Linked DNA regions of Homo sapiens: region 2 is linked to region 1. Evidence: promoter capture Hi-C in human tissues and cell types (Jung and others, 2019). All regions are on one chromosome and are shown on one strand. The core of a region is centred on a gene start or on the middle of the fragment in contact, and the rest is flanking DNA. Distances in the headings are between cores, read along the strand shown.

Evidence for each region. The method cuts DNA at HindIII sites, captures the fragments that hold promoters and counts their contacts. A contact is called where the count stands out against the background at its distance.
Region 2: the fragment with the promoter of ERBB3 here is called in contact with the fragment with the promoter of PMEL in region 1 in 2 of the 25 tissues and cell types used here (aorta and mesenchymal stem cells).

What each region holds. Positions count from the first base shown.
Region 1 is chr12:55,962,288-55,968,622 of GRCh38, forward strand. PMEL (premelanosome protein) reads right to left here and starts at 3,755. Exons shown (of 11, transcript NM_001384361.1): 1 at 3,649-3,755. The coding sequence starts at 3,724. It overlaps CDK2 (cyclin dependent kinase 2), which reads left to right and starts at 4,543. Exons shown (of 7, transcript NM_001798.5): 1 at 4,543-4,837; 2 at 5,570-5,647; 3 at 5,762-5,882. The coding sequence starts at 4,722. RefSeq lists an enhancer at 4,234-4,313. The HindIII fragment of the contact is 17,930 bases long and covers 1-6,335 here.
Region 2 is chr12:56,076,976-56,083,310 of GRCh38, forward strand. ERBB3 (erb-b2 receptor tyrosine kinase 3) reads left to right here and starts at 3,190. Exons shown (of 28, transcript NM_001982.4): 1 at 3,190-3,407. The coding sequence starts at 3,326. RefSeq lists enhancers at 973-1,022, 2,847-3,837. The HindIII fragment of the contact is 14,559 bases long and covers 1-6,335 here.

The DNA of each region.
Region 1 (6,335 bases), core at 2,505-5,004:
ACAAAATTAGCCGGGCATGGTGGTGCGCACCTGTAGTTCCAGCTACTTGGGAGGCTGAGGCAGGAGAATTGCTTGAACCCGGGAGGCAGAGGTTGCAGTGAGCTGAGATTCTGAGATTGCACCAGTGTACTCCAGCTGGCGATAGAGTAAGACTCCATCTCAAAAAAAAAAAAAAAAAAAAAAACACAAAAAACCCCTTATTTATTTGTTTATTTATTTATTATTACTCTTTTTTTTTTTTTTTTTTTTTTTTTGAGATGGAGTCTCGCTCTGCCCCCTAGGCTGGAATGCAGTGGCGTGATCTTGGCTCACTATAGCCTCCGCTTCCTGGATTCAAGCAATTCTCGTTCCTCAGCCTCCCAAGTAGCTGGGACTACAGGCACCCACCACCACACCCAACTAATTTTTGTATTTTTAGTTTCGCCATGTTTCATGGTTTCTCCATGTTGGCCAGGTTTGTCTCAAACTCCTGACCTCAAGTGATCCAACCGCTTCGGCCTCCCAAAGTGCTGGGATTATAGGCGTGAGCCACTGCGCCTCGCCTGTTTTGTTTTAAATCAAGACATAATTCACATACCATAAAATTTACTTTTAGCCAGGCATGGTGGCTCACATCTGTAATCCCAGCACTTTGAGAGGCCGAGGCAGGTGGATCACAAGGTCAGGAGTTCGAGACCAGCCTGGCCAAGTGAAACCCTGTCTCTACTAAAAATACAAAAATTAGCCGGGCGTGGTAGTGGGCACCTGTAGTTCCAGCTACTCAGGGGGCTGAGGCAGGAGAATTGCTTGAACCCAGGAGGCGGAGGTGGCAGTGAGCCGAGATCACACCACTGCACTCCAGCCTGGGCTACAGAGCAAGACTCCGTCTCAAAAAAAAAAAAAAATTTACTTTTGAACATGATCAAATTTGTGTTTTAGAAAGATCACGATGGCAAGCAGTGAGGAGGATGGATTAGAGGCTGGCAGAGATTGGGGATGGGGACAGGGAAGACAAAATTATTGTAACTGACCAAGAGAGGTCTGAGAAGAAAAGGATATGCTGGACCTCCATCTGCCCCACCCAGGTCCAACAACTATCAACACCTTGCCACATTTGCTTTGTTTATCCTTACTAGTTGTTGTTTTTGTTTTTGTTTTGGCTAAAGTATGTAAAAGCAAATCCCAGACATCGTGTTATTTTAACCCTACAAATTTAAAATGTATGAGTATTTTCTTGCATAAGCACAATGTCATTTCATGCTAGACAAAATTATCAAACTCAGTCCATATAAAATTTCATGAATATCTGGAAAAATGTCTTATGATTTTTAAAATCAGGATCCAAAATATAAGTACAGTCTTTTTGTTAAGAGCCTTAGGTGGGTGGGTGTGAACAGACTCTTTCCAGGATACATTAAGGAATATAGTAAAAGAAAAAGACTTGAAACTGCAGCACAGCGAGGAAAGTCACATCAAGGAGAACTTCCTAGAAATCTGTGACACTAAACATCTAGGGAGAAAGCAGGGCTGGGATATAATGTATGTATTTCAGCACAGCAGAAACTACCCTCACCCCATTTTTCCCTTTCCTGCAGAAACCTCTCTCCCCTCCCCTTCCCTCCCCTCTCCTCTCCTTTCTGTATATAGTTCAGCACAGCAAAAACTACCCTCACCCCATTTTTCCCTTTCCTGCAGAAACTTCCTTCCCTTTCCTTTCCCTTTCCCCTTTCCTTTCCTTTTGATACAGGGTTTTGCTCTCTCACCCTGCGTGCAGTGGCACGTTCATCACTCACTGCAGCCTCAAACTCCTAGGCTGAAGCCATCTTCCTCATTAGCCTCCCAAGTGGCTAGGACCACAGGTGCTCACCACCAAGCCTGGCTAATTTTTTTTTTTTTTTTTTTTGAGACAGAGTTTCGCTCTTGTTGCCCAGGCTGGAAGGCTGGAGTACAATGGCACGATCTCAGCTTACTACAACCTCCGCCTCCCGGGTTCAAGCGATTCTCCTGCCTCAGCCTCCTGAGTGGCTGGGATTACAGGCATGCACCACCACGCCCAGCTAATTTTGTATTTTTAGTAGAGACTGGGTTTCTCTATGTTGGTCAGGCTGGTCTCAAACTCCCAACTTCAGCTGATCCACCTGCCTTGGTCTCGCAAAGTGCTGGGATTACAGGCGTGAGCCACCAAGCCTGGCCTAGGCCTGGCTAATTTTTTTACGTTTCGTAGAGACAAGGTCTCACTATGTTGCTCAGGCTGGTCTTGAACTCCTGGGCTCAAGCAATCCTATGACCACGGCCTCCCAAAGTGCTGGGATTACAGGTGTGAGCCACTACACCCGGCCTCCTTATCTCTTTTCTTTTCTTTTCTTTTTTTATTTTTTTGAGACAGAGTCTTGCTGTTGCCCAGGCTGGAATGCAATGGTGTGATCTCGGCTCACTGCAACCTCTGCCTCCCAGGTTCAAGCGATTCTCATGCCTCGGCCTCCCAAGTAGTTGGGATTACAGGTGCGTACCACCATGCCCAGCTAATTTTTGTATTTTTAGTAGAGATGGAGTTTCACCATATTGGCCAGGCTGGTCTGACCTCAAGTGATCCACCCGTCTCAGCCTCTCAAAGTGCTAGGATTACAGGCATGAGTTACTGTGCCGGGCCTCATCCCCTTTCTTTTTTTTTTTTTTTTTGAGACGGAGACTCGCTCTGTCACCCAGGCTGGAGTGCATTGGTGTGATCTTGGCTCACTGCAACCTCTGCCTTCTGGGTTCAAGTGATTCTCCAGCCTCAGCCTTCTGAGTAGCTGGGACTACAGGCATGTGCCACCATGCCCAGCTAATTTTTGTACTTTTAGTAGAGACGGGGGTTTCACCATATTGGCCAGGCTGGTCTCGAACTCCTGACCTCGTGATCCACCTGCTTCAGCCTCCCAAAGTGCTGGGATTACAGGCGTGAGCCACGGCGCCCGGCCTCATTCCCTTTCTAATGTGTGCTGTAACCCTAGTTGATTCTGCTGGGGGAGGATCTGGAATCATCTATTGAGCATCCCACCACTAGAACAAGAGAAGTCATAAGATACCCCATTCTTTCTCCACTTCCAACTCTCCTCAGAGCAGCACGGGACATTCCAGACCCTCTCACCACCCCACCCCCGCCCCTTGCTCCTGTCACGAGGCCCAATCCCCCAGAGCCCTTTCATGTGATGCTCAGCTGAGACCCCTCTGCCTATCTCTCCAGCCCCAGAACAAAAGGTCTGGGCTGTGTTCACCCGTACCCATCCCAAGAGGAGAGGATTGTATCTCCTTAGTGTTCTTACCCAATACCACATTCTCTGACTCCCCACTTTAAATCTCCTACCCCAAGAGACGTTTCCTAAAAGAGTCTCCTGCACATTTCACCCCTTTGGAGCCCGTGCTCCAGCTCACTGCCAAGGAAGCCTCAGAATCAGTGCCACAGAGACCTTCTATCCTTCTGCCCCTCCAAGCATATGAGATTATTTTCAGGCAAAATCCCAAATCTCCATGTAGGGAGGGAGCCCAGGTGCCCACATCCTCACTAAATCAAATGAGTGGGAGACGCCTGAAATATTGCCGCTATCTCCCATTAGGAGGACAGAAACCAGAGCAGGGGGAATTCATCCCCAAGTTCACACCTGCTCATGTCCACATATCCACACATACCTTTTGTAGCCCCCACAGCCAGCAAAGCACCTATCACAGCCAAATGAAGAAGGCATCTTTTTAGCACCAGATCCATTGTGTTCTTCCCTCCAGCAACCAAAGGCACTGGGGGGACTGGGATAGGCCCCTATATAAGAAAAGGGTGCTCATTTGCATAGCCCTTCCTCTTCTCCCTCAGAGAAGGCCTGGGAGGGGCCGGAGGAGAGGAAAAAGGAAAAACTGACAAAGGGATCCTGGTCCCTAGACATTGCTTTCCCATCCTGCTACTCAATGACAGTTTCTGGTTTCACTGGGTCACTCTCATCTTGATGCACTCCCGGGCAAGAGCTAACTGAAAGGCAGCTGCGTAACACATACCAGACACAACAGTTTATCATGGGAGAGTGAATTAAACCAGGAACTTCTCAAAAAGACAGAAACAGAACCCTGCATCCCAAAACAGAGACAGTGTCGGGGTATGCTATGAGGCAGAGGCAACGACTCCTCTGAGGCCCAGGATTCCTTTGCAACGAGATTCCCGGCTTCCTGGTTTCCAAAGGAGGCTCCTGGGCCAGGTGGAATTTAACCTTAGGTCGATACATATTTTCCCCAGGATTGGTGAAAATAGTGAGTTAGAAATCAAGAAATCCCTACAGACTAGAGACATAGGTAGGAAACTTGGACCCAAAGCAGGTACTTGGGAAGAGTGTTCAGCCGCCCCACCGGGGAAGAAACTTGTCTAGCCCCCAAGAACCAAACTTGCCTGGGGCGGGATCATTTGCGGGGAGGAGCGCTGGGCTCGCCCCCCGGCTCTGACGTTGACCAATAGAAAGGCCTGGGGGCGGAGCCAGGGAAACGCGGGAAGCAGGGGCGGGGCCTCTGGTGGCGGTCGGGAACTCGGTGGGAGGCGGCAACATTGTTTCAAGTTGGCCAAATTGACAAGAGCGAGAGGTATACTGCGTTCCATCCCGACCCGGGGCCACGGTACTGGGCCCTGTTTCCCCCTCCTCGGCCCCCGAGAGCCAGGGTCCGCCTTCTGCAGGGTTCCCAGGCCCCCGCTCCAGGGCCGGGCTGACCCGACTCGCTGGCGCTTCATGGAGAACTTCCAAAAGGTGGAAAAGATCGGAGAGGGCACGTACGGAGTTGTGTACAAAGCCAGAAACAAGTTGACGGGAGAGGTGGTGGCGCTTAAGAAAATCCGCCTGGACACGTGAGTGGCCTCTGTACCCGGGACTCCTAACTGGGGACCTCCTTGATTGTCCCCCCCAACCCCCCACGGGCGGGTAGCCGTCCAGGGACCGGAAGAGAGCAGGGAGGGACTTCTTTAGAAGTGGAGAGGTGGGTTGGGGGCCAGTAGAAGGTGAAGAGTATACTTATACTCCCTGGGGAGAGTATAGGGTGGTGTGGAATCCATGGAAAACTTTCTTCCCAAACTGAGCCGGATCGTGCCCCCAAATGTGCGACTACAGACTCGGGGAGAGAAAGGAGGTCTCTGAGATGAGGTCCAAGACTCTCCATGGAGTGGAGTTATGTGGGAACCGGCGAGAATCGCCTTTCTGAATGAAGAGCCCTCTTCACTGCCCCACCCTCACCTTAGAATTCTCTCCTCTTTCCAAAGAATGGCAGTTGAACCTCACTGGCCCCTCTGGGGAGGCTGGGGGCTACTCCTGCATTTTTTCCCCTCCATTACAGTCTCCCTGCTTCACCTTCACCAGGCGGCTTTACTTACCTACCCCTGGGAAAAGAGGAGATAATGGCCTTAATATATCCAAAAACCACACCCTGACTACCCAAGAATTAGCTCTTACCATCACCCTTTCTCTTCTCTCACTTTCCTAGGGGGTGCTGGGTGGTGTCTCCTTGGGGGAAAGAAATGACTAGGTGGGGGGGAAAGGAATATTTGTAACCATATTCCCATCTCTGCTTTCCCAACCTCTCCAAGTGAGACTGAGGGTGTGCCCAGTACTGCCATCCGAGAGATCTCTCTGCTTAAGGAGCTTAACCATCCTAATATTGTCAAGTAAGTATGCGTCTGAGAGGTGATCCAGCTGGAAAGGAGGATAAGTTCTGTCTGTACAGTGTGGGCATTTCTCTCTCTCACACACCTCCATTTCCTCAAACTTTCCTTCTCTAGGCTGCTGGATGTCATTCACACAGAAAATAAACTCTACCTGGTTTTTGAATTTCTGCACCAAGATCTCAAGAAATTCATGGATGCCTCTGCTCTCACTGGCATTCCTCTTCCCCTCATCAAGGTAATGCTTCTCATCAGCTCCTCTCATCATGGGCATGTCTTGGGGGACTGGTGGCAGGCAATTCAGGGTGATATTTTATGATTTTGGCCTCCTTCTGAGCCCTCATCTCCTATACACACACACTCCCCTTCTTTTTGTGTCTCCTTCCCTGCTCATTATATTCATTAACCCTAGGGTTGGACTGAACAATCAAAGTTGAAACTCTAGTGAGTCAACCTAGCAACTCAGGTGGGAGGTCAGATGAAACTCAGATAAACGGGATTTGAGAGCACTTGGTAAATTCCTCCAAAAAGCCCTTCCATTTGGTGGAAGACCTAGCTAGTGAGTCCCTATTGTCTATTTTAGGGCTGGATTCTTCACTCCCAGAGCTACTTTCAATCTATTAACAAACATTTTTTCAATGCACAGGATGTAGAAAAGGGATGGAAAATTGAGTAAGACTTGGTCCTTATC
Region 2 (6,335 bases), core at 1,940-4,439, 110 kb after region 1:
TGTGAATCTGAACACATGAAGCTCCAGTCTCAGTAGAACAGTAAGAAATCCTAAGTAAGGCCAGGCATGGTTCACATCTGAAATCCTAACAATTTGGGTAAACTGAGGTGGAAGGATTGCAGAGGCCAGGAGTTCAAGACCAGCTTGGGCAACATAGCCAGACCCCCACCCCCACCCCCGCATCTCCATATCATACAAAAATAATAAAGAAATCCTAGGTAAGGCCAGATGGTAAGGCCAGGTGTGGTGGCTCATGCCTGTAATCCCAGCACTTTGGGAGGCCGAGGTGGGTGGATTGCCCAAGGTCAGGAGTTCAAGACCAGCTTGGTCAACACAGTGAAACCCCGTCTCTACTAAAAATACAAAAATTAGCTAGGTGTTGTGGCAGGCACCTGTAATCTCAACTACTCAGGAGGCTGAGGCAGGAGAATAGCTTGAACCCAAGAGGCAGAGGTTGCAGTGAGCCAAGATCGAGCCATTGCACTCCAGCCTGGGCACCAAAAGCGAAACTCAGGAGAATGCCTTGAACCCAGGAGGCAGAGGTTGCAGTGAGCTGAGATCACGCCATTGCACTCCAGCCTGGGTGACAGAGCGAGACTCCATCTCAAAAACAAACAAACAAATAAACAAAGTAGCCAGACATTTTGGTGCCCACCTGTAGACTCAGTTACTAGGGAGGCTGAAGTGGGAGAATCACCTGAGCCTGGGAAGTTGAGGCTGCTGTGAGCCATGATTGCACCACTGCACTCCAGCCTGGGTGACAGAGGGAGATCCTGTCTCAAAAAAAGGAAAAAAAGCCAGGTGTGGTGGCTCACACCTGTAATCCCAGCACTTTGGGAGGCTGAGGTGGGTGGATCACCTGAGGTCAGGAATTAGAGACTAGTCTGGCCATCACAGTGAAACCCCATCTCTACTAAAAATACAAAAAATTAGCCGGGCTTGGTGGCGCACGCCTTGTAGCCCCAGCTACTTGGAAGCCTGAGGCAGGAGAATCACTTGAACTCAGTAGTGAGCTGAGATCAGGCCACTGCACTCCAGCCTGGGTGACAGAAACAGAACAAGATTCCGTGTCAAAAAAAAAAAAGCAACAGACCAGAAGGCCATGAGGTCAAACAAAACAATGTTTTGTTTTTGTTTTGAGATGGCGTCTCACTCTGTCGCCCAAGCTGGAGTGCAGTGATGCAATCTCAGCTCACTGCAACCTCCACCTCCCGGGTTCAAGCGATTCTCCTGCCTCAGTCTCCTAAGTAGCTGGGATTACAGGTGCCCACCATCATGCCCAGCTAATTTTTGTATTTTTAGTAGAGACGGTGTTTCACTATGTTGACTAGGCTGGTCTCGAACTCCTGACCTCAAGTGATCTGCCCGCCTCGGCCTCCCAAAGTGCTGGGATTACAGGCATGAGCCACCGCGCCCAGCCGAATGTTTTGTTTTTTAAGATGGAAGATATCCCAGCACTTTGGCAGGCTGAAGCAGGTGGATCATTCCAGCTTGGGCAACAAGAGCGAAACTCTGTCTCAAAAAAAAAAAAAAAGAAAAGAAAAAAAAAGAGAGAAAGAAACCCTAGGTAAAAGTCTGAGCCCCACCTCCCAATCACCTGATCACCTCAACCACTGTCACCAGGTGGATGACCTTGGAGAGGTCACACACTTCTAGTTCTGTAAAATGGGGAGTTATATTGCCTAAATCATATAATTTTTATGTTAAGTGACACATTCTCTAAGGCACTAAGTTTGAGGACATACTTTGTAAATGAAATGATATATGGAAATGTTTGTATATGTTAATGGTTTTGTTGTTGCTATTATTATTATGACTACTATACACATGGTCTGGAGAAAGCCAACCTCCCCAAAGCGGAGATTCTCCAGTAGAGAACAGGCCCTCTAGGTTGCATATCAATAGGGAGCATGTTTAAGGAATGTTAGCCGGTAGTCTTTGCTAGGTGTGAGGGGTGAAATTTTTCTTTATCAAGGCTCAACTGTTTTCGAAGTCTTCAGGCTTGAAGTTCTGGAGAAAACAACTAGGCTCTCCGGGCGAGATCCCGAATACCAGTTTAAGGGATTTGAAATGCAAGGCCGTCTGGGACTCCACTGCCACGGATGGGCACCAGGCGGCGCCGGTCGGATCCGTCCCGGGACTAGCAGGGCTTTGGGCAGCAACCCGCAGGGAGCCCGACCGCCTCTGGCCAGGTCCGGGCAGCTGGTGGGGGAGGTTCCAGAGGTCCACGCCATTCGTGGACGCAGTCTCTAGTGTCCTCTCCGCGTCCCACTTCACTGCCCCATCCCCTTTCCTGCGAGAGCCTGGACTTGGAAGGCACCTGGGAGGGTGTAAGCGCCTTGGTGTGTGCCCATCTGGGTCCCCAGAAGAGCGGCGGGAACTGCGGCCGCCCGGACGGTGCGGCCAGACTCCAGTGTGGAAGGGGAGGCAGCTGTTCTCCCAGGCGGCCGTGGGGGGCAGCAGAGGGGACGGCGACAGGTGCGGGAGCCCCTCCCGGGGTAGAAGTGGAAAGGCGGGCTCCGGGGTCTGTTCCCAGGCTGGAAACCACCCCCGCCCCCCATCCAAATCCCCGGGAGAGGCCCGGCCGGCGCCGGGTCTGGAGGAGGAAGCGGCCAGAGACAGTGCAATTTCACGCGGTCTCTGTGGCTCGGGTTCCTGGGCTGGGTGGATGAATTATGGGGTTTCGAGTCTGGGAGAAACTGAGGTGGCCTGGACGTGAGGCAAAAAACACCCTCCCCCTCAAAAACACACAGAGAGAAATATTCACATTCTGAGAGAAAATCCACCAAGTGAACCAACCGGCTAGGGGAGTTGAGTGATTTGGTTAATGGGCGAGGCCAACTTTCAGGGGGCAGGGCTTTGGAGAGCTTTCCACTCCCTCATTCATTACCCTTCCCTGGATCTGGGGGCTTTCGGAATCTCGACCTCCCCTTGGCCTATCTCCTGCAGAAAAATTAGGGTGAGCCCCATCCTCGATCTGCTCCGCCAAGTTGCGGGACCGCGGGGCGTGGCACGCTCGGGGCAGGCGGTCCGAGGCTCCGCAATCCCTACTCCAGCCTCGCGCGGGAGGGGGCGCGGCCGTGACTCACCCCCTTCCCTCTGCGTTCCTCCCTCCCTCTCTCTCTCTCTCTCACACACACACACCCCTCCCCTGCCATCCCTCCCCGGACTCCGGCTCCGGCTCCGATTGCAATTTGCAACCTCCGCTGCCGTCGCCGCAGCAGCCACCAATTCGCCAGCGGTTCAGGTGGCTCTTGCCTCGATGTCCTAGCCTAGGGGCCCCCGGGCCGGACTTGGCTGGGCTCCCTTCACCCTCTGCGGAGTCATGAGGGCGAACGACGCTCTGCAGGTGCTGGGCTTGCTTTTCAGCCTGGCCCGGGGCTCCGAGGTGGGCAACTCTCAGGCAGGTAAGTGGCGCGAGAGCACCGGCGGGCTCGGCACCTGGGAGCCGGAACCCAGTGCGCGCAGCCTCGGAGGGTATGGGCACGGTCTCAGGCGGCGCGGGGTTGTGGGTGCTGCCCCCGGTTTGCCAGGACCACCTGGGAGAGGGGCGGTCAGGCTCGGGTTATCGGCGTGGTCCGGCCGAGGGCGGCATTCCGGGACCCTCACGCCACCCTTCTCCAGAGCGTCGCCGACCCTCTAATTGGTCTCCCCAGAAGAGGCTGAGGCCGAAACAGTAGTTCACACTTCTGAGGGGCCCTGCAGGGAGGGGAGCAGGGAACTTCATTCTGTAAACAGGAGGTGCTTGGAGGTGGGGGCCTTGGCGGGAAGGGTCTCGGTTTGCTCGCCAACCCCCTGCCCCCCACCCGCGCCGATTTCAGCTACCCCTAGTTTCGTTGTTTTGCCGACAGGGCGGAGCTACAGAAGGTTGGAGGGGGTTGTTGTTCTCTGGTGTTGGAAAAACAGGAGCGGCACCTCCTCTTCCGTGAGTGAGCCTGCCCTGGGGAGGTCTGAGATTAACCAGAGGGCCAAGTTCAGGTGACATCAGGCAGGAGGCCCAACAGAGGCTGGCGCCCCCTTTCCTCAGTATAGCAGAGCTTAAGCAACATCTCTTTGTCAAGACCCAGGTCAACACAACTCATATTTATTGAGCATCTACTATACACAAGGCCCTGGGCCAGGAGCTGTAAGGGCAAGGATGTCCAGCCTCTGGTCTTTTCTCTCCCCAACCTGAGGATCAAGAGGGCACCTCTGCTACTTTCTAAGCCTCCTGCCTTGGGGAGTCCTTCCTGGGCTCAGCTTGTGCCTCCCGCCCCCATTTTGCTTATTGTCTGACACTGTCTCTAGGACCCTAGACAGAGCCCCGGATTGCTCTTCTCCAGTCCTCCCCCGACTCCCATGCTATCTGAGCCCACCCCTTTGGGGTGTCTCTGGGACCGTGGACACCTGAGGACTGAAGTTCTGTGGATCTCCTCCCCTCCCCTCAGATCTCAGCTTGGGGTTTGGCACAGCCAGGGCCCCTTCCCCAGTGTGGGAGTGGAAGAAACCACCTGTGCTTCCCTCACAGTTGCTGGGCCTAAATTTAGATCCTGGGATTTTTAGATGTGAACACTCCCAGCTGGTGGAGGGGGGTGGTCTGGGGACTGGCGTGGGAGGGAGCAGTGGAGTGACTGTATAACTGTCCCATCCAGACTCCTGCAATCTTCACCCAGAAACCCAGGAGTACCAGAGTCTGGCCACCCTCCCTGGGGAGGCAGGAGGCAGGCATGGTTGGGTCTCTTTACCCTTTATCTGGGTCCTGCAGCCTCTGGGCATCCGGCCCTGTCTCAGTCCTTCTATAGCCCCTTTGTCCTGGCTGTGATGGGGGTGGGGGATGTTGGAGGGGAGGCCTCTGGTTGAGGAGGGGCTGGAGATTCTGGCTCTATCCCACCCCTAGTGCTCTCTACCAAAGGAGGGCCTGTGACACTGCCCCTCCCTATGCTCCCGGTTCCTGGGTACAGCAGGGATTTTTATGATTCCCTTCCCCTGCCCTGCTCCCCAAGCTGCCTAGCTCCTCCCCAGAGGTGTTGTTTGTGCTCCCTTCCTGCCCAGGCCCTTTGCCCCCTGTTTGTGTAATATGGACTTTACCCTCAGGGTAGCAGGGAACTGGGCTACCTCTAACACTGTAGCCTTCCAAGCACAGACACAAAGTCTGCACAAACACTTATGGGCACGTGGGATAGATGGGGCCACCTGAAATACTTCCTGCAAGGAAACCCAACTATAGATTCCTGAGCCAGCAGGACCAATGTGTACGTGTTCGTGTGTACATTGTGTGTGTATGTGTGTGCCCACACTACTACTTCCCTGTGCAGAAAGCTTGGCTCCTCCCTTATCTGGGGAGAAGTGTTGGCACTATAACTTGGGAAAGGGGGTATCCTGCCAGGAAGGGGATTGGGGTGGGGCTGTTCCAGAAATGACTAACCTTCCTAGTCTCTTTCATTTCAACCCAAGGACCCTGGAGTTCCCAGCTCCTCTGGAACTAGCTCTCTTTGCTGGGACTAGCCAACCTTCATGGGGAGTGATAAGGAGCCCTCCAAGGTCAAGAAGTCAGACTAGGGGTGTATGTTATAGGAGGGATTGGGGCCTCACCAGTCTCCCTCCCTCCATTCCCACTGTTGCCTCCCACTGAGCTACCACCGCCTCAGGGAAGGGTGGCTGGAACAGGTGGTATCTACCCCCTACTCCCCACCCCACACATGGTCTTTCCCTGAACCAGAGGAAAGAGACTGGGGTAGGGCTTCAGAGTCCAGGACTTCCCATAGCCCGTTGTCCACCACATTTGCAAAGAAGAGTGAACTCCCAAGGCTGACATGCCATGTACCTCTAGTCTAGGCTCTCCCCTAGTGTGGGTGAGGATTGCCATGGTGAAAGGCTTTTTCATGAACCTCTTCTAACAATGAAATTGTGTGGAGGCTCAATATGGGGCATCTGCTACTATCTCTCTCCAGGTTCCTCTGTATTTGCTGAAAAATACTCTAGGGCTGGAAAGTGATGCTGAGGTTGCTAGAGTGTGTTGGGATGGGGGAGAGAGTGAGAAGGAAACCCTGAGTTTAGGAAGGCGGGGAGGCAACTAGCTCCTTATCTTTCAGCTTTAAAGACAAAGCTCCCATTGACCCCCCCTCACCCCAGCACTGCCAGAGCTCCCCCCTCTACTGAGGTCACTTGTCTGAGCCCAAGGCTTGAGGGTGGAGGGGAGTGCTGCTGAGGACGGGGTGTCTAGGGACAGGGTGGGGCAGCCCCCCTCCTGGATAGAATCGCCTCATTGTGGGCTGGACTGTGGCCCCAGGCACTGCCCCCACCCTCTGCCCCCATCCCACCCTCAGTAGACACAATAGGGGCTGTGTACTAGTCCC